Linked DNA regions of Homo sapiens: all the other regions are linked to region 1. The links are contacts of gene promoters, found by promoter capture Hi-C in human tissues and cell types (Jung and others, 2019). All regions are on one chromosome and are shown on one strand. Each heading gives the region's core, a stretch centred on a gene start or on the middle of the fragment in contact. The rest is flanking DNA. Distances are from core to core; before and after follow the strand shown. Region 1 holds the start of MN1 (MN1 proto-oncogene, transcriptional regulator). Region 2 has its middle 98 kb from the start of LINC01422. Region 3 holds the start of LOC110091768 (a long non-coding RNA gene). Region 4 has its middle 20 kb from the start of LINC01422. Region 5 overlaps LINC01422 (long intergenic non-protein coding RNA 1422). Region 6 has its middle 86 kb from the start of LINC01422. Region 7 has its middle 100 kb from the start of LINC01422.

Region 1 (2,623 bases), core at 53-2,552:
TAGCGATATCAGGGGCACTTCAAAGAAAGTTCTTTTTTCGCCCTTCTCCTAAGAATGCGAATCTGCTAGCAAAATCGCCTCGTGCTATTTTATGGCAAGGAAAATTAAAGGCCTTCTCCCCCCTCCTTCCCTACACACACTTTAGGGAGGAACACACACACACACACACACGCATGCACAAACACACGCACGCAGGCGCGAGCACACGCACACAGGCGCACAGAATAAACACCTCTATCCTCCATCACCTCTAACTTCCAACTTCTAATTGCAAGATAGATTTCAGCCTCTGTGGGGATCAGGACGATCTAAACATTTTAACTAAGATTATTGGGATAAATATTTCATAAAGAGCAGGGCAGATATTAAATTACTCCTATTGATTTTAGTATCACAGCCCAATTCCATTCCTCGGCCTCTTCAGTTTAATTGATCTCTTAAGGAGGCCAACTTCGCACCCGCAGAGGGTCTGGGTCTTGGACCGGGTGGCCCAGGGCAAGGTGTGCGGCCCGGCGGGTGCGCCCTCTTCGTGCGTGTCTTCTCGGGGTTCCCAGCCGCCTCGCAAGTCGCTCCGGTTACTGGGCTCAACCGATGTGCTCCCCCATAAAGTGGCTGAGTGACTGTGACTCCTTGGAGCCCACGCCGGCCGGTGAGAACCGGGAACCCCAGGCAGTGGGGAAGGGGAACAATTGTGAACGCCCTAGTGACGGAGGAGTGAGCAAGCGCCCAGGTCTCTCGAGGAGAACCCTAACTTCGAGGTTCCCCGTCTGCTTTACCCTCCAAGAAAATCCCAGGGCCGGCTAACTTGGGCGCCGCTAGCGGAGAACGGAGTGTTCACCCCGGAGCCGAAGTGCAGTAGACACTTAGCGACTTTCCGTGGCGAGTCTAGGGTCTTTGCCTGGCGACCTCATTGTCTGAGCGCCCCGTACCGCTCACCGCCCACCTCCCCGCCCCCTGCCCACCCGGTGGGTCTCGCTCCAGTTGGGGGTGGGGAGTTGGGAACAGTGTGAATGGGAAGGGGGTGAACAAAGCCAAGCTCCCGCCATTCTCCTCCGCCTGCACCCTCTCCAGCTCGATGCGCCCGGAGGCCGGGGCGCGCCCCCAGCGCACTGACGCCGGACCCCGAGGAGAGGCGGGCGCAGGGGACCCCAGAGCTGGGGTAGTGCGGGTTCGTGGCGGGGGCTTCGGCAGCCAGGACCCCGGACCACCTTAAGAGCGAGCCCCGCCCCGAGCCCGGAACTTGGGCGGCGCTGATTGGTGCAAATGTAATGGCTGAAATTGATTGCTGAAATGCAAAACTTGTTGCTGCTTCTCCCGGCGCTGGGCGAGAGGCAGACACAGAGAGGGGAGCCGAGACCCTCGGAACGCCCCACGCAGAGCCCCCCCGCTAGTCGGGAGAGGGGTGCGCAGACCCCCCAGAGCTGCCCCCGCGCCCCCCTCCCCCCATTCCGGGCTCTGAGAGCGCAGCGGGAACGCCTTAGCCTGCTCGCCCGGCGTGGCCCCCCGACCCGCGTACGCCCCCCTCCCTCAGGTCCGAGAGGGACTCGCGAAGCACCTCAGCGCGGAGGCAGGGAACCGGAGCCTTGGAGCGACCCAACCCCTCGTCTCGCTGCCCTCCCGCGCCTGCAACGGTGCGCGGAGACTCCGGCGAACTCAGACACCCAACGGCGGAGAACAGAAGCGGCAGGCGGCGGACGTGGCCGCGAAGCTGCGCGCCGAACGCAGCGCACCCGCTGCCGAGCAGAGGAGCCGCGCCTTTCCCCGACCCTCGGCTCCAGCCCCCGGCGCCTGCCGCCTCGCAGCCCCTCTGCGTCCTCGGCTCGGGGGCCGGCACCGGCGATGCCGAGCGGAGCCTCCAGTCCTCCGACCCGCTGAAGAAGCAGCAGCCGCTCGCCCGGAGCCTACGGGGATTGTGCGAGCGGATCGTGCTCGGTGGAGGCTCGGGCTGCGGGGCGCGGGGACTCCGGGGGGCGGGGGGAGGGACCGCTCTGTCGGTGCCCGGCGCCAGCCGCGGCTTTGAAGGGTCTCCCTCCCCTGCCCTTAGCAGCTCTGCCACGGACTCCGGGAGGCTGCGGGCGGCGTCCTGAGGGCTCCCCAGCAGACCCAATCGGACTTGAGAAGGTGATCGCTCTGCTCTCCCAACCCCCTTCCCTCCCCATTCCCCCCACTTAACTTTTTGTCTCCGTTCATCCGCGGCTTCGTCCCCTCCCCGCAGACCCACCCGCGGCTGTGACAACCGCCCGGGGCATGGGCCCCCCAACACGGCTCCTAGAGGCCCCGCGGCCTCGCAAGATGTGAGAGGCCCTCCCCGGGCAGAATCGGAGCTTCAGGAGAGGAGCTAATACCCCGCCCCCCGTCCCTCACATCAGGCGGGGTGGAGGTGCGCGCTGAGCCCCCGCGGTGCTGAGCGTCCCGGAGCGCCCAATCCTGGGCTGGAACGAGTAGCTGGCCGGAGGCGCGCCGCGGAGAGCCGGCTGTCATGCCCTATTGATCCCCCTCTGCCCCCCGCCAAGTATGTTTGGGCTGGACCAATTCGAGCCCCAGGTCAACAGCAGGAACGCTGGCCAGGGCGAGAGGAACTTTAACGAGACCGGACTGAGCATGAACACCCACTTTAAGGCCC
Region 2 (2,623 bases), core at 86-2,585, 1.0 Mb after region 1:
ATGTCGCTGCTTTGTGGGGCTGATGACACATAATGCACGGTGACAATATGTCACATCAGAAAACAATCCCAAACGCACTCAGGTGGGACTGCAAACCCCAGGGGTGCTGGGGAAATCAAAGATTGGGAATCTTCAGCAAAGGGGGCTGTGGGAGAATGAAAATGGCCCCAACCCACTCCCCTGCTTTACCTGTTAGAAAAGTAAACAGCCACGTTTCCCACCAGTCCTTATGGAGTTCAAATGAATGGGAGGGTGAGACAATGGCTGAGTCTCCCAATCCACACCATTCATGTAGAATTGTAGCTTCTGTGGCCATGTGGCTCTCAGGTGCCACACTATGGGCCTTCCGTCTCATATAACTAATCTTGCCCAATCCTAGCAACCTGTTTGCTTGGAAGAAGTTACCATTAGCTCCTTATACAGGTGGGGAGACTGAGGCAACTGAAGGTAGGAAGGTGTAAGAGCTGCATGCACAGGCTCTGAAATCACAGGGAACTAGGACCTAATCCTGGCTCTTCCAATCTCAGGCTGTGTCACTTTGAGAAACTTATTTGATCTCTCTGAGCCTCAGCCTCTTCATCTGTAAAACGGGTATAAAAATGATACCTTATCACACAATACCTGATACGCAGCAAAAATCAATACAGATTCTTGTAATTGTTATTATCAAAGACCACAGAGCTCAGAAGAGTTGGAGGTAAAATTCAAACCCAGTTTCATGTAAAAGCCCATGAACTTTTCTCTGCCTCCCCACTCCCACCCAGCACCCTATCTGCCACCCAGCCAGTTCCTGACGGTTTTCCTCTTCCAATACGGCAATTCATCAAGCAACTCATCAGCACCATGGGATGATCACAGCCTCCATATTTATGGGCCAAGATGTTCTTTGCAAGGTTTCCACACAAGCATCAGAGAGAGAAGGTGGAATCATCCCCATTTTGCAGCTGGGGAAATTGAGGTTCAGAGAGGCAAAGGTATTGTTTTAAAGCTACACAGAAAGTAACAGGTGGAGCCAAGGCTAGAGCCTGGGTCACCTGCCGCCCAACTGCTGCCCTCCCGTTTTTAGTAAAAATTCCTCAGCCTGTCTAGCCTCATTGGGTTTGCACTGCAATTGCAGATGTTACATCTGATCCCATAAATCTTCCCATTTCTGCATGGGGAAACTGGGGCTCCAGCAGGAGACCCGCCCTGCCGAGGATCTCAGTGTGAGTCAGAGTCGCAACAGGAAACCTGGAAACCTCATCCCTCAGGCCCCTCATTCTCCTGCAAAAGGCAGTCCCTGCCACGGTGAGGTCTGGCCAAGTGCCTGGGTGGCCCCAAATAAAGCTGCCCCCTCCAAAAATGGCAATAGCCTGAAAACAAAATCCCTTTGTGCACCCAGTCCATGGTCTGGAGATCTGAACCCGCAGTGGCTGCACTAACCCGTCTCGTCCCCACAACCCGCAGAGGAAGAAAACCAAACCTTGAACCTGACGAAGCCCATACGAGTGGCAGGTATTAATTGGTGCAATTAGGCAGCTCTTTCCCAAGGCCACAGAAGCTTCAGCATCGATAATTAGACTCAGATTGGAATTCCTTTGGCCCTGCATGTAAACAGGACACTCTTTCTGCAGTTGCGGTAAATGATTTGTTCAAAGGGGGGAAACATTTACTGTAATTTGAAAGGAGCAATTGACTGTATTATTAGTGGATGTGAGTGCCCAGATGACAACAGACTCCACATTGTTCTGTCTTCTATCCAGGCCTGGGGACAGGAAACTTTGGCAGCAGGGTCCCCCAGTGGTTGGGGGGGCCCCATTTGGGAGTCGGAAAGACCCAAACTGAGATTTGAGTCCCACCTCCCCGACTTAGGTGCTGTGTGACCTTGGGCAAGTAATACAACATCTCCCTTTCCTCATCTGTAAAGTAGGGATGACACCAGTATATATATCATGGGGTTGCTGTGAGGATGAGATGAACCAAACACATATAAAGTGCTTCATAAAATAAGCTGTTGACCTTGTTGTTATTAGTAATCATCTTGGAAACACTCCTGAAGTCCCAGACTAGGTCACAGTCAGCTACCTATTCCCAAAGGGAATAAACAAAACGAACTATAACCCACACAACGGGTCATGCCTTTGACATTTATTGAGCACCAACTGTATACAGGATGGAGTCAGACAAGGGCTTTGCTCACTGGGTGCTCAAAGTGTGTAGTGAAGACAGACACATGAACAGATAACGACCAGAACCTCACATCCACACAACACTTTACAGTTTACGAAGCATGTGTAACTTACCTTCAGTAGCCCCCAAGGCTCTCACTTGAAAGCTGGTGTTATTATGCCCATGTCATTGATGAGAAATCTGCAGTTTTAAATCACTTACCCAGAACCAGCATTTGAATTCAGGTCTGTCTGCCCCCATGCCTATTACGATCTCTGGCAAATTTCTTCCCGTGAGGGAACGGGGCAGAGAAGAGTTAGGAAATTCCACTATCCTGGGAACCCCAGAATTAGGTGTGAGGTTGGCTGACTCCATCATGGCGGCTTCTCCAAATACAGAGATGTCCTCACTGTTCCTCTTCCCACCTCCTACCCAGGCCCTACTGCAGTGCTCCTGGGTGATCCTCACATCTCAT
Region 3 (2,623 bases), core at 50-2,549, 940 kb after region 1:
TACAGAGTGCTGATTGGTCCATTTTACAGAGTGCTGATTGGTCCATTTTACAGAGTTGCTGATTGGTGCATTTACAATCCTTTGGCTAGACACAAAGCGCTGATTGGTGCATTTACAAACCTCTAACTAGACAGAAAAGTTCTCCAAGTCCCTACTCGAGCCAGGAAGTCCAGCTGGCTTCACCTCTCAGCAGCAGAAAAAGACCATACATATGTTAACAAATAGATAAGAATTCCAGAAAGATACTGAAAAGTGCTTTACTTATTTTATTTATGTATTTAGAGACAGGGTCTCACTCTGCCGCCCAGGCTAGAGTTCAGTGGAGCAGTCTCAGCTCACTGCAGCCTCAACTTCCCAGGCTCAGGTGGTCCTTTCACATCAGCCTCCTGAGTATCTGGGACCACAGGTATGTACCACTATGCCTGGCTAATTTTTGCTTTTCCTAGAAACAGGGTTTCACCTGTTGTCCAGGCTGGTCTCAAATTCCTGGGCTCAAACAATCCACTGGCTTCAGCCTCCAAAAGTGCTGGGATTACAGGCATGAGCCACCAAACCTGGCCTATTTATTTATGTTTTAGAGACAGGGTCTCGCTCTGTCATCCAGACTGGAGCAAAGTGATGATCACAGCTCACTGCAGCCTTGAACTCCTGGGCTCCAGCAATCCTCCTTCCTCAGCCTCCCGAGTGGCTGAAACTACAGACACACATCACCAGGCCCAGCTAGATAAATGCTGAAAGGAAAATTAAAAGGGTCGTCCGGATGGAGTGACTGGAGACTGGTCAGAGAGCCCTGTCTGGGGTGACAGTTGAGCTGGGAATTTAACGATGAGAAAAAAACTGGCCTTGCAAAGTCCTAGGGGAAGAGGGCTCAGACAGAGGAAAGGCAAAAGCCCTGAATGTTTGTGAGTCAGAAAAGAAGGGAGAGTGGTTTGTGCACATTAGGTGAGGGGAGGTGGAATGGGAGAACCAGTTGGGTTGGGGACGGCTATGGTCATAAGTTACAACTGTAGGGGGAAAATATATCCGATTTTTATTTTATATGATAGCTTTTGCTTCTGTGTGGAGGGTAGATTATAGAGTGCTAGGGGACCTACTCAGAAGTTGTTACAATAATTTGGGAGAAGGATGGAGGTGGCTCAGGATATGGTTCTAAAGGAGGTTGCAAGCAAAGACCAGAATGATTCTAAGGGCTGGAAAAAAACTGTGAAAGATCAAGACATCCATCCCCCTGTGGTTATGCAAATCACATTCAAGCCTCCTGGAGACAGGCAAAGCCAAGATGATGATGTTTCCTACTGTTGTAAAAACCTTTCATGGTAGATCATTCCTGCCTTCCTGAAACCACAGCATCCTGGAATTGAAGGGATCTTCTAGACCAATTCCCCCTGAATTTCCCTTTCTCTTTGTTCTGACCATGCTCAGAACATCCCCAACAAGAAATTAACTGAGTTACACTTGAATATCCCCACGACAGGGAACTCTTTGTCAGAGCACTACCTACCACAGCTCTTTGTAGCCATCCTTGGACTGAGCTAAACCTACCTCCTGAATACTCTATCCCCCATTTAACCCTCCAGAAAAACAAAAAAATGAATGAACTTGTCTGGACCGTTCATGTTGCCCAGGAGAGCCTTGCAGAAATTGAGAGCATCCCTTCTGAGGTTTAACAGAAAAATCCTCCATGGCTGTATCCTCAATTCCTCACCTATGTGGGTAGCCCATACAATGTAGGGCATGAAGTCATTCACTATATCCCAGGAAAGAATGAGCAAGATTTATTTTCAGCATTTCAGGTGAAGTTACCCATGTACAGTGCCTGAAAGAGAGTAACCTGTCAATGCATGGTAACGGCTGTTGCTATTGTGGTCATTGTGATTATTGCTTTTGCCGTTATTGCCATTAGGAGTAATAGTATTGTGTTATTAAAGGTTGTTTTGTTTGGGGATCTGTTCCATGTGCCCATTGGAATTTCCCCAGGCATCTGACAAGGCGGATGACACTCATTCTCATCCTTGTATCACTTTGCATTGATGTTCCTTTTATCTCTGACACCCTTCCTCCCCCTTTTCTCTTGTAAACTGCTATCTACCATTCAGGACCTGGCCTAAACACCAGCTTCTCTGTGCAAACTTCTCATCATACACACACACACACACACACACACACACACACACACACACACAGAAGAGAGAGAGCAGAGTGAGGCCCTTCCTTTTCTGTGTGCTTCCATTTCACATAGTGGGCTTGCATTCTTCTTTGTCCCTTGGGCAGCAGTTTCTAAGTCAACGATAGGCCTTCCAATCTATGGGAACTTCACTTCACATCGAGGGACTATGGCCAAAGCCATGATACGATGGGCACTGACTATGTACCAGACTCCGTACTACTCATTTTCACCTGTGTCATCTCAGTTTATCCTCACAAATATCCTGGAATGTAGGTGTTACTATCATCCCACTTTACAAAGAAGGAAACTGAGGTTTCAAGGAGTGAGGTGACTCTTCACCTGGTCATCTTTTGGTCCTGAGTGCAAGCATTACTTCTGCAGGAAAGAGCTTCCTGGCCAACCCTGGACCAAGCTCAGGCCCTGCTACTGGCTCCTCTAGAATCTGTGCCTCCGTGA
Region 4 (2,623 bases), core at 51-2,550, 920 kb after region 1:
TAAAGAACCATAGTAAAATACAAAACAAATGGTGGTTATTTGACAATTATGCCAATGAAATTATCACAAGAGAGGGTATTATCCTACAAGGGATCCAGAGAGAGTTTTGAAATTTTCTGGTCCACAGAGGCTGCTGTCCCCAAGTCACTAAAAGAAAATGCTGAACAAGGAAACTCAGGGAAAAAAATATAGTAGGTATTTATGCATCCTCAATTATATGTCAGATATGGTGGAAGTGCTTCACATGTGTCAACTCAATATTTATCCCCAGAACAGCCCTAGAGTCAGTAATACATCCCTCACTTTATGAACAAGGAAACTGAGCCCCAGAAAGGTGGTATGACTTGCCCAAGGGCACACAGATAGTAGGTGGCAAAGCCAGGAGTCAAACCTAGGTCCGTCTGTGGGCCCTCCTGACAATCCTCCTCAGCCAGGTCCCCAAAGGGGATAAAACGCTACTGACCTCCAAAACTGAATAAGCTTCACAAACTTCTAGTCATTTATACGTTTAAACTATATTTTCTTGATGCCCATCTAAAGGTACTGAAGGGAGATGAATTTGACACCGTTTCTGCCCCCAAGCACTCACAATCTAGTTCAGATGAGACCAGTAACTCCATAAAATAAAGTGTGAGGATTCAGGGGCCAGAGAGGGGAGGCGGCTTTAATTCCTGAGTTTCAGTTACCTCACACACTGAGGAGATTTGGAGAGGCTATAATTTCAAGAGTTCCATTAAACACGAATGGTAAACAAATAGACATTTAAGAGACATTATTTTGGTCTTCTGTCCAAAGTACCTTACCTTCCTTAGACAAAAGAGTTGTTGAAACAGTTTATTAAATTGCGCTAGATTGAATTTCATTGGGTTGTGGGACTATCTTGTGCTGGGAGTTGTGCTGACTTGGATTGGCTTGTATTGGGTTGACTTAGGTGGCTGAGAAGTGGTCTGTTGCATCATGTTGAAATGTAATTTGTTGGAATTTGTTGGGTTCAATGGTTTTTGCTGAATAAGGTCAAGTTGAATGGGGTTGTATTGTGTCGGTGGTGAGGTTGTACTAAGTTGGGTTATGTCGGTTTATTTCAGTTGAATTGATGTGGATTGAATTGGGTTAAGTAGATTTCGTTGGGTTTAGTTGGCTTGGCTTGGCTGGAATGAAACTGATTGGTATCCATCTATTGAGAAGGGTGTAGAGCCATTTCCTGTCCAACAAATAGAACTGCTCTGGAAAGCTCTATATTTTAGGGCCAAAACCCACAATGGATGGAGCCATTTTGCATTTGAGGAAGTATGACCCAAATAAATGGTCTTTCCATCTCTGCTAAAATCTAGTTTACTGGCTGCAGAGATGGCAATGAGGTATTAGGGGGTGGATATTGCAAAGGTCACACGGTTTGTATGCAATTCTGGCATCTCTGTCGGTCCTATCCTATTCATCAATTTGCAAAGCATCATGGAGCTCTCTACATGTGCTGGATACTGAAGATCAAAGGATGAATAATGCCCCATTCCTGTCCTTAAGGACTTAATGATGCCACGCAATTACTGTTTACTATAATATTGTCTCCCTTGGGCAAACTCGTCATCCTCAAATCTGGCTACCAGCAAGACAATTGCCAACACTCTGACCCCAAGACATTGGAACAATGGAGAATATCCACAAGCACAAAAAATACTTTTGGTCAGGAGCGGTGGCTCACACCTGTAATCCCAGCACTCTGGGAGGCCGAGGCAGGCTGGTCACTTGAGCTCAGGAGTTCAGGACCAGCCTGGGCAACATAGTGAAACCCCATCTCTACAAAAAGAATACAAAGTTAGCCGGGTGTGGCATGTGCCTGTAGTCCCAGCCACTCAGTTGGCTTCAGCCTGTGAAGCAAAGCTTGCAGTGAGCCAAGATCATGCCACTGCACTCCAGCCTGGGCAACAGAGCCAGACCCTGTCTCAAAGACAAACAAAACAAAACATACTTTTTAAATAAATAAAGCCTCTAGCAAGTCTGATTAAGAAAAAAATGGAGAAAGGGAGTGAGAAGGGAGAGTTATACAGCATAAGTCTTTTAACTACAAAAACAGGAGAGCTTTTACAAATTATTTCAAAAATACTACAAGCAGACAGGGCATGGTGGCTCATGCCTGTAATCCCAGCACTTTGGGAGGCTGAGGCGGGCGGATCATGAGGTCAGGAGATCGAGACTATCCTGGCTAACACAGTGAAACCCCGTCTCTACTAAAAATACAAAAAAATCAGCCAGGTATGGTGGCAGGCACCTGTAGTCCCAGCTACTCAGGAGGCTGAGGCAGGAGAATGGTGTGAACCCGGGAGGCAGAGCTTGCAGTGAGCCGAGATCGTGCCACCACTCCAGCCTGGGCGACAAAGCAAGACCCTGTCTCAAAAAAAAAAAAAAAATACTACAAGCAGCATACTTACCAATACATTTGAAACTTAAATAAAATGATTTGAAAGAAATAAAAATGACCAAAGTTGGCAGAAGAAGAAAAAAATGTTAGACTTAAAAGTCTAATATCCATTAAACATTGTACAAAATCTATTATTATCCCCTCTCCTGACCATCGCACCTCATTCCCTGGGAGCTTAACATTTTATAAACCTGTTATGTCAGACCT
Region 5 (2,623 bases), core at 73-2,572, 890 kb after region 1:
ACGACTGCCAGCTTGGGTCCTTACTGACTTGCTCCGTGGCCTTAGGTGAGTCCCCTCCCCTCTCTAAACCTCAGATTTCTAATCTGTGGAATGGGATTCCAGATTTCTCACCAGGTTGGCACAAGCATTAGGTCAAGGTGAGGTCTCTGAGTAAGCCACTGAACTGGACAAGTGTCAGTCACTGCTACGGACTGAACGTGTTCTCCCAAAAATCATATATTGAAATCCTTACCCCCAGCACGATGCTGTTAGGAGGCTGGACCTGTGGGGGTGATTAGGTCATGAGGGTGGAGCCCTCATGAACAGAATTAGTGCCCTCATTAAAGAAACCGCATGGGGCTCCCCAGCACCCTTTCCACCATGTGAGGATACAGCAAGAAGTCGATAGTCTGCGACCTGGAAGAAAACCCCCATCAGAATCAATTCTGCTGGCCCTGATGTAGGACTTTCAGCCTTCTGCTTCCCAGACAGGGAGTGGACTTGTGATGTTTGGGGTAGCATGCCTCAAATAAATTCCTGTTGTTTATGAGCCACCCAGTCCATGCTCCTTTGTTATAAGCAGCCCGAACAGGCTGAGACAGTTACTGTCACTGTGAGTTGTACAAGATGGGAGGGACCTCAGAACCTGCCATCGTCCTCAGAGTTTGGGAGTCAGAACCTGAATGTGTGGAAAGAGAATTAGCAGTCCAAGGGGAGCACTGGCCAGAGTAGGGATCCCAGAGAGTGACTGCTGTTATGTAAAATCCATGCCCACGGTCCACCAGACATCTCTAATCCAGCGCTGACCCCCTCGCAGACTTTGGCTGGACCCTAGAACTCATCCAGCCCAACTTCCTCATGCCACAGGTGAAGAATTAGAGACCGTACGGAGAGAAGTGACTTGCCCACAATCTATCAGGTAAATTTCCTTTCATTTGTTACTGACTTCCAGGAAAGATGGTAGATTGAACACACTCCTCTAATATATTTCCTTCCCTAAAAGACAATACTATTATAATACAGGATTTGTTTTAAAGGCATAAACTCATAAGGACAAGGAGAACGGAGGAAAAGGTAACAGTCATGAGGTTTGGAAATGGGGAAGTGAGAAGGCAATGGTGGTAATTGACTTGGCAGATCCAACATGGCTAAGAAGTGGAGATGGTGAGGGACCAACCCAATTTGCACCCATTCATTATGTCATTCAATTATCTTTAATTTGTCAGTTTCTCTGTTCAGGCCCCGATGAAGATGAATGGGACTCTCCAGACCATGCCGCCCAGTGGTGCATGATCTTCTGGTGGCAACAGGGAAGCAAATGAGGCAACCTGTGGAGCCCTCTAAGGCAGACATACAGTTGGCCCTCCATATTCTTGGATTCTGCATTTGTGGATTCAACCAACAACACATCGAAAATAATCAGGGGGAAAAAAGGACGGTTGCAGGCCAGGCGCAGTATATCATGCCTGTAATCCCAGCACTTTGGGAGGCTGGAGGGGGAGGATCACTTGAGGCCAGGAGTTGGAGACCAGCCTGGCCTAACATAGTGAGACACCACTTCTGTTAAAAAAAAAAAAAAAAAAAAAATGTTAAATATACTTGAGAGCTTATTGGAAGAGTCAAAAAGCAATTCACCTGAATCTTGTAAAGCAACACAATCTACAGGCCCCTAGTTTTCTGTTTCTCTGTTATATTTAAGGATTCTCACTCACTTACCCACTCAATGTAACATAAGAAGATGTAACATAATAAGTATTTTCAGCCAGGCGCAGTGGTTCACACCTATAATCCCAGCACTTTGGGAGGCCGAGGCAGGAGAATTGCTTGAGCTCAGGAATTTGAGATCAGCCTAGGCAACAAAGCAAGATCCTGCCTCTCCAAAAAAATCAAAAAATAGGCTGGGTGTGGTGGTGCATGCCTACAGTTCTAGCAACTCAGGAGGCTGAGTGGGAGAACCTCTTGAGCCCAGGAGGTGGAGGATGTAGTGAGCTATAGTGGAGCCACTGAACCCCAGCCTGAGTGACAGAGACAGACACTGTCTCAAAAAAAAAAAGAATGGTTGTGCTGAACATGTACAGACTTCTTTTCTTGTCATTATTCCCTAAACAATAGAGTATAACAAGTATTTACATAGCATTTACATTGTATTAGGTATTGTTAAGTAATCTGGAAATGATTTAAAGCATACAGGTGGATTGTGTAGGTTATATGCAAATACTATGTCATTTTGTATCAGTGACTTGAGGATTCGTGGATTTTGGTATCCACAGGGGGTCCTGGAACCAATCCTTCATGGGTACCCAGGGATGACTATATATAAGGTACCAACAATAAACACCAAACTCTCACTGGAGGGATAAAAGGTAAAGGGTGCAAGGACAGAGGAGTTTGAGTTTGAGTTTGAGTTGGTTACTGAAGAAGGGTCAAGAAAGAGGAGTGAGCACTCCCAAGAACAGGAGGAGCTCATGGGAAGGCAAGGAGCAGAGATATGAAACTTTCAGAGCATTCCAAGTCCCTTAGAGACACCCTCAGGTGCAGATCTTGAAGGACCCTGTAAGTCAGAACATAGGGGTACTAGGGAGCCATTGAAAGGTTTTGAGCAGTTAAGTGACAAGGTCAAGAAATATCACTCTGACGGGGGTTG
Region 6 (2,623 bases), core at 71-2,570, 810 kb after region 1:
ACGAGCTGACCCCAGACTGGAGTCTGCAACATAGAGCTCCTCTTCACCCCCAAAACATCACCAGAGCCAAAAGGCAGGAGCAGAGAGGGCTGCACTAGTCTAAGGCTCATTCCCCTTCACCTGGTGAGATGCTATTTCTATTCTGCTTCCCTACAAAGCATCCCTCGATTCTTTCATTTATTTACTCAACAAACAGATATGTACTAAGTCCCCATAAAGAACACCAGCACCTACTGTCATTCTAAGGCTCCTTGTAAAGTGCTCAGCCACAGCCTGGCTTCTGGCAAGCCCTCAACACCTCTGCATGTTCCCCCTGGGAAATGCTATCATCAGAATTTCACAGGAGCTGTTCCACTTTCTGAGATCACAGACCAGGGCTACAAACATCTCTTTTCCCTTTCTTCCACATGTGCTCTCTGGATGGATGCTCCAGCCCATGAATCCTTGGCTCCTGGTCTCTATATGGGTCCATTCATCATTAGCCAAGGTCAAGTCACAGGTGCCTCCTATCATTTCTCAATTATGGGTGGCCCCTGGGCCAGCACCATAAAGTGGGCTCTGCTTGGCTCATATTAATTAAATATCACAGGCTTCAGGGAAGGAGCCAGGGAAGGAGGCTTGGCAGCTGGCCTCTCTAGGCTTGCAGCTCCTTCTCCAGGTAAAAATGTATTCCCTCATTCATTCAACAGATAATTATGAGGCCCCTACATGTGTCCAGGCCAGGCACTATGCCAGTCTCTGTGTACCCAATAGCAAAAAAGATCCACATGAATCATACCCTGTGATGCACATACACCAATGAAAAGGTCCCCAAACTCCATGACACATCTTCGTGACCTAGCGTGATAGTCTGGTAAGAGGGCCTTCAGGCTCCATAGCAATGAGAAAAAAGATTTGGGAGTAAGGTGAGGTGGGGGACACGTGATAGTTACCTCATTTCTGAGTTCAGTAAGCATCAATGATGGAAACCAGAGGCAGTGTGACTCAGGACAGAGGGTCTGTCCAGCTCTAGGAGTAAGAAGACCCGATCTCCAAGCTCCTCTCCAGTCATAACACTCTGATTCTGTGACTTTCGGGTTCTTCGGGGCCTGTCCCTTTTTACAGTAAAGGAAAACAAAATAGCTTACTCACTGTGTATTAACAGTTATCTCATGGAATCATCCTCACCTACCATGAAATTCTTGATGCTAAATAAATGAGGACTGCAAGGGTGATGTTATTGGAACGTTTCAGAACCAAAGCTTGCAAAGAGGAGGAAAAGGTCTGTTTTGCATCTCTGAGTTTCCATAATCAAAATCTACCCATTTCTCTGCCTGCCTTTCTTCCTTCCTTTCTTTGCTTGTTTACTGTGATACAGCCTGGCAAGCCCCTGACATGTGGCCAGGTACACAGGGGCCACTCAGCACATGTCTGAGGATGGTGACCACTGAGGAATAAGAGGTCAGAGCACTGGCACAGGTCAAACACCAGACATATATTTGTCCATTGATTCTCTCAGCACCCCTGCAATCTGGGCATGTTTGCTACTGTTTATGGATAACACTAAGGCTCAAAAACTGAAAGTTACTTTCTAAAATTCTCCAGGCCTCCCTTACTCCAAAGCCCTGGCTCTTCCTGCCACACTGTTAGGAGGAAAGATCTGAGGACAAGGCCAGAAATGTGAAAGAGAAATGATAGTACAGGTTGCTGACAGACATGCTTTGCAGAATGGTCACTTTAAATTGTGAGTCCATTAGTGGAAAAGGAGATGTTTCGGCTCCTGTCCTGAGTATTCTAAGGTTTAGAATTCTAGCAACACTCTGACTATCCTGACAGAACAGTCAGAGATACAGTTAAGGCTCCATCCACCTGGACAGTCCTCACTGAATCATGTATGAGTGACAACTGAAAACAGTCATTAGTGTTCACTAGGTACCGAGAACTGTTCACCATATTTTACTTGAATTGATTTCATCATTATAAGAACTCCAGAAGTTATCACCATTGTTTTACAGATGAGGAAACTGAGACACAGAGAGATTACACAGCCTGTCTGTAATCACGTGGTCATGCTGCTGAGATGCTGGTATGGCAATTTCTGAACCCTGGTGCTTAGGGCTGGAGCCCAATGCCTTAACTTTCATGAAATATCATCTTCTCAAATGCACACCAGTAGGAAACTGATTGAGTGAATTAGGGAGTGTCCACCCAATGGAATACTACACAGCCATCAAAAGTACTTATAGTTGTTAATACATAGAAAAACGTAGAATGAAAAAGTCAGATACAAAATTACACATTGTATTATTTTATTGATATCTAAAACTGTCAAGGAAAAACTGAAGAAGGATATGCAGAATAAGTTCAGCTATCCTTCCATTCGTTCATTTATCTAACCATTCACCCATCCACCCATCCACTCACCCATTCATCCACCCAGCTATCCATCCAGCCAGCCAGCCAGCCATTCATCCACCCATTCACCCATATGCTCATGTATCCATTCATCCACTCACCCATTCATTCCTCCAAACATCCACCCATTCATCGGTCTATCCACCCAACTACCCATTTATCTATCCATCCATCCACCCATTTATTCATCCATCCAACCACCTATTCACCCATCCATCTACTCATCTAT
Region 7 (2,623 bases), core at 32-2,531, 800 kb after region 1:
GGCAAATGACTTTCCCTACCTGAGGCTCAGTGTTATCATCTGTAAAATGAGAATAATACTCCTTGCCATGCAAGGGATTGAGAAAGTTCTGTAAGATAGTAACTCTCATAGCCCAGCAGGGGAAAGGAAATGAGAAGGAGCTGCCGCAGACTGCAGTTAAATTCTGCACCTCTTCCCCCGCCCTTCTACTATCTGATCTTGGAATAACCTAACTCTCCCCTTGTATTTTTTTCCTTTTTAAGGGATCTACAGGGGACACCATCACCTCAGAAGAAGGTCTTGTTTTGGTGGACATGGCCACTGGGGGACCAGATGTTTCTTTTTTTGTGACAGGGTCTCACTCTGTCACCCAGACTGGAGTGCATTGGTGCAATCTCGGCTCACCACAACCTTCACTTCCCAGGCTCAAGTGATTCTCCTGCCTCAGTCTCCCAAGTAGCTGGGATTACAGGCACCTGCCACCACACCCAGCTAATTTTTGTATTTTTAGTAGAGGTGGGGTTTCACCCTGCTGGATAGGCTGGTCTTGAACTCCTGATCTCAAATGATCCACCCGCCTGGGCCTCCCAAAATGCTGGGATTACAGGCGTGGGCCACTGCGCCCGGCCAACCAGACGTTTCTTAAGATTCATCCTAATTCTGAGGTTTGACCACTCCTTGGCTTGACATTCAAGGCTTTCCACAATCCAGTCCCAGCTCCCAACTCCCTGGGGGGCCATCTTCCCACTGTGAGCAAGGACAGCAGAGGGGAGGCAGAAGGATAGTCTTTGAACCCAAAGAGTTAAAAGATCGTCATATTCCTTGCTACATCAATGACACCTGACACAACATAAGTGCTCAATTTCTGGTATTGGAATGAAATAATACAATAAAATCCAGGGCTTCCTGGACAAGTGTATCTTAATGGAGTTAGTAGCATCTCCTAAGGGGAATTTTAGGAATGTAGGATGTGAAGCATTTTCTATTATCTTATCCCAGTGGTGCTCAACAAGTGGATATTTTGCACCCTCAGGAGACATTGGCAATATCTAGAGATATTTTTGATTGTCATAACTTAAGGGGGAGATGTTTCTGGCATCACAGAAACCGGGGAGGTTGCTAAACATCCCACAATGCACAGGAAAACCCCCTACAATAACGACTTAATCTGATCTGATCCAAGATGTCAATGGTACTAACTTTGAGAAGATCCGTCCTAGTAATTGGGGAGAATTACATCAGCAATGCAGGACATGCAATTCCCAAGACAGTCCCACAGCAAGAAGAATGGCCCCAAGTGCCTCAGGAATTTTGAGTGCCCTTCTGGGCATTCATGTAGATATAATTCCTCCTTAATAATTATCTGAGCCTAGAATTTAAATCCGTCTTACATACAGCTAAATGTTTTGGCACAGATTTGCTTTACATGGGATTTTCCTTGAATGTAGTTGCAGTGTAAATTGGGGGAAGGGAATACTTTGTTTTATCCAAAACCCCAACAAGAGTTGTTTTTCACTTTGGAAAATCCAGGCATCGACCTCAAAGTTGATCGTGGAACGTGAATTGCTGCCTGCACACCTGTGTCAGTCGACTTTTGCAGTCCTATTCACAGTGACACTACCCATATATATGAATATACTAATTTAGCTCTTATTTCAAAATGTCAAAAATAGAGAAAAAAATGTCGACAATATTCAATTGAATATTTGTCTGAAATTTCAACTTACTCATTATAAGTAGACACAAGCATCAGACCGCTTCATCATGTTTCCTGGCATATAGTGGTTTTTGATAATTTACATATTAAAATAGATATTATTTTATTATAAATTGCTTTCATTTTATTCCTCCCTTACAGTTAGGGCATTATATTAACTTTTTTGAAATTACATGTATATGTAGATGAAATGTATGATTTTCAATTCAGAATAGTGAAGTGGAGGTTATAATGTGTATAACGAAGAGTATGTGTGGTCTGGTAAGGCAGAGCTTCACTGTCTAGTTCCCATATTGAAAGGTCAACATTGATATTGAAGTGGCAGAAGCCAGAGACTCTAGTCATACTGTAATTCGCACTCACTAAAGAATCACCCTGAGTCACACATAAATTTTAAATGTTCTATAGAACATTCATGAAGGTAAACCTTTGTTTATAAACACCTGAGTCTAGCTATTTTATTACTCAGTGTTTGCTGTGTAACAAATAATCCCAAAAATCTCAATTACTGGCAAAAAGCATTTATTTTTCTTACTCAGAAGCCCTACAGATTGACTGCATTTGACTCTAGGCTGCTTCACCTCTCTCTCTTCCTCCATAGACCGGCATGTACCTGGGGCATGCTGTTCTCATGCAAATAACAGGACTGCAAGAAGCCAAGGCAAACCACACAGTATATTTAAATCTTCCCTTTGCATTATGTCTGCTCAGGGATCATTGGTCAAATTAAGTCACATGACCAAGCCCAGTAACAACTGGATGAGGAAATAAGCCCCACCTCTAGTAGGAAGGGCCTCAAAGTCACATGGCAAAGGGCAGAGGTACATGGAAGCTTGAAACATTGGGAACAAAAATCAATAATCCAGCCTAACTCTGTTTTATATCTAAACACAAATTAACTGTGACAGTTTTTTTTTCCATGCTTAG

The links. The method cuts DNA at HindIII sites, captures the fragments that hold promoters and counts their contacts. A contact is called where the count stands out against the background at its distance.
Region 2: a fragment that was not itself captured here is called in contact with the fragment with the promoter of MN1 in region 1 in 4 of the 25 tissues and cell types used here (IMR-90 fibroblasts, dorsolateral prefrontal cortex, mesenchymal stem cells and 1 more).
Region 3: a fragment that was not itself captured here is called in contact with the fragment with the promoter of MN1 in region 1 in 2 of the 25 tissues and cell types used here (dorsolateral prefrontal cortex and lymphoblastoid cells).
Region 4: a fragment that was not itself captured here is called in contact with the fragment with the promoter of MN1 in region 1 in 3 of the 25 tissues and cell types used here (aorta, dorsolateral prefrontal cortex and mesenchymal stem cells).
Region 5: a contact is called between a fragment that was not itself captured here and the fragment with the promoter of MN1 in region 1, in 1 of the 25 tissues and cell types used here (dorsolateral prefrontal cortex).
Region 6: a contact is called between a fragment that was not itself captured here and the fragment with the promoter of MN1 in region 1, in 2 of the 25 tissues and cell types used here (IMR-90 fibroblasts and lymphoblastoid cells).
Region 7: a contact is called between a fragment that was not itself captured here and the fragment with the promoter of MN1 in region 1, in 4 of the 25 tissues and cell types used here (aorta, dorsolateral prefrontal cortex, neural progenitor cells and 1 more).

The regions. Positions count from the first base shown.
Region 1 is chr22:27,800,435-27,803,057 of GRCh38, reverse strand. It overlaps MN1 (MN1 proto-oncogene, transcriptional regulator), which reads left to right and starts at 1,302. Exons shown (of 2, transcript NM_002430.3): 1 at 1,302-2,623. The coding sequence starts at 2,515. The HindIII fragment of the contact is 23,630 bases long and covers 1-2,623 here.
Region 2 is chr22:26,804,023-26,806,645 of GRCh38, reverse strand. No RefSeq gene overlaps it. Among named protein-coding and RNA genes, the nearest start is that of LINC01422, 98 kb to the left of the region's middle. The HindIII fragment of the contact is 8,411 bases long and covers 1-2,623 here.
Region 3 is chr22:26,857,862-26,860,484 of GRCh38, reverse strand. LOC110091768 (a long non-coding RNA gene) reads right to left here and starts at 274. Exons shown (of 6, transcript NR_146604.1): 1 at 1-274. The HindIII fragment of the contact is 5,076 bases long and covers 1-2,623 here.
Region 4 is chr22:26,881,881-26,884,503 of GRCh38, reverse strand. No RefSeq gene overlaps it. Among named protein-coding and RNA genes, the nearest start is that of LINC01422, 20 kb to the left of the region's middle. The HindIII fragment of the contact is 4,128 bases long and covers 1-2,623 here.
Region 5 is chr22:26,906,851-26,909,473 of GRCh38, reverse strand. The region is part of intron 2 of LINC01422 (long intergenic non-protein coding RNA 1422); the gene reads right to left. Among named protein-coding and RNA genes, the nearest start is that of LINC01422, 4.9 kb to the right of the region's middle. The HindIII fragment of the contact is 4,697 bases long and covers 1-2,623 here.
Region 6 is chr22:26,987,535-26,990,157 of GRCh38, reverse strand. No RefSeq gene overlaps it. Among named protein-coding and RNA genes, the nearest start is that of LINC01422, 86 kb to the right of the region's middle. The HindIII fragment of the contact is 6,951 bases long and covers 1-2,623 here.
Region 7 is chr22:27,004,423-27,007,045 of GRCh38, reverse strand. No RefSeq gene overlaps it. Among named protein-coding and RNA genes, the nearest start is that of LINC01422, 100 kb to the right of the region's middle. The HindIII fragment of the contact is 8,534 bases long and covers 1-2,623 here.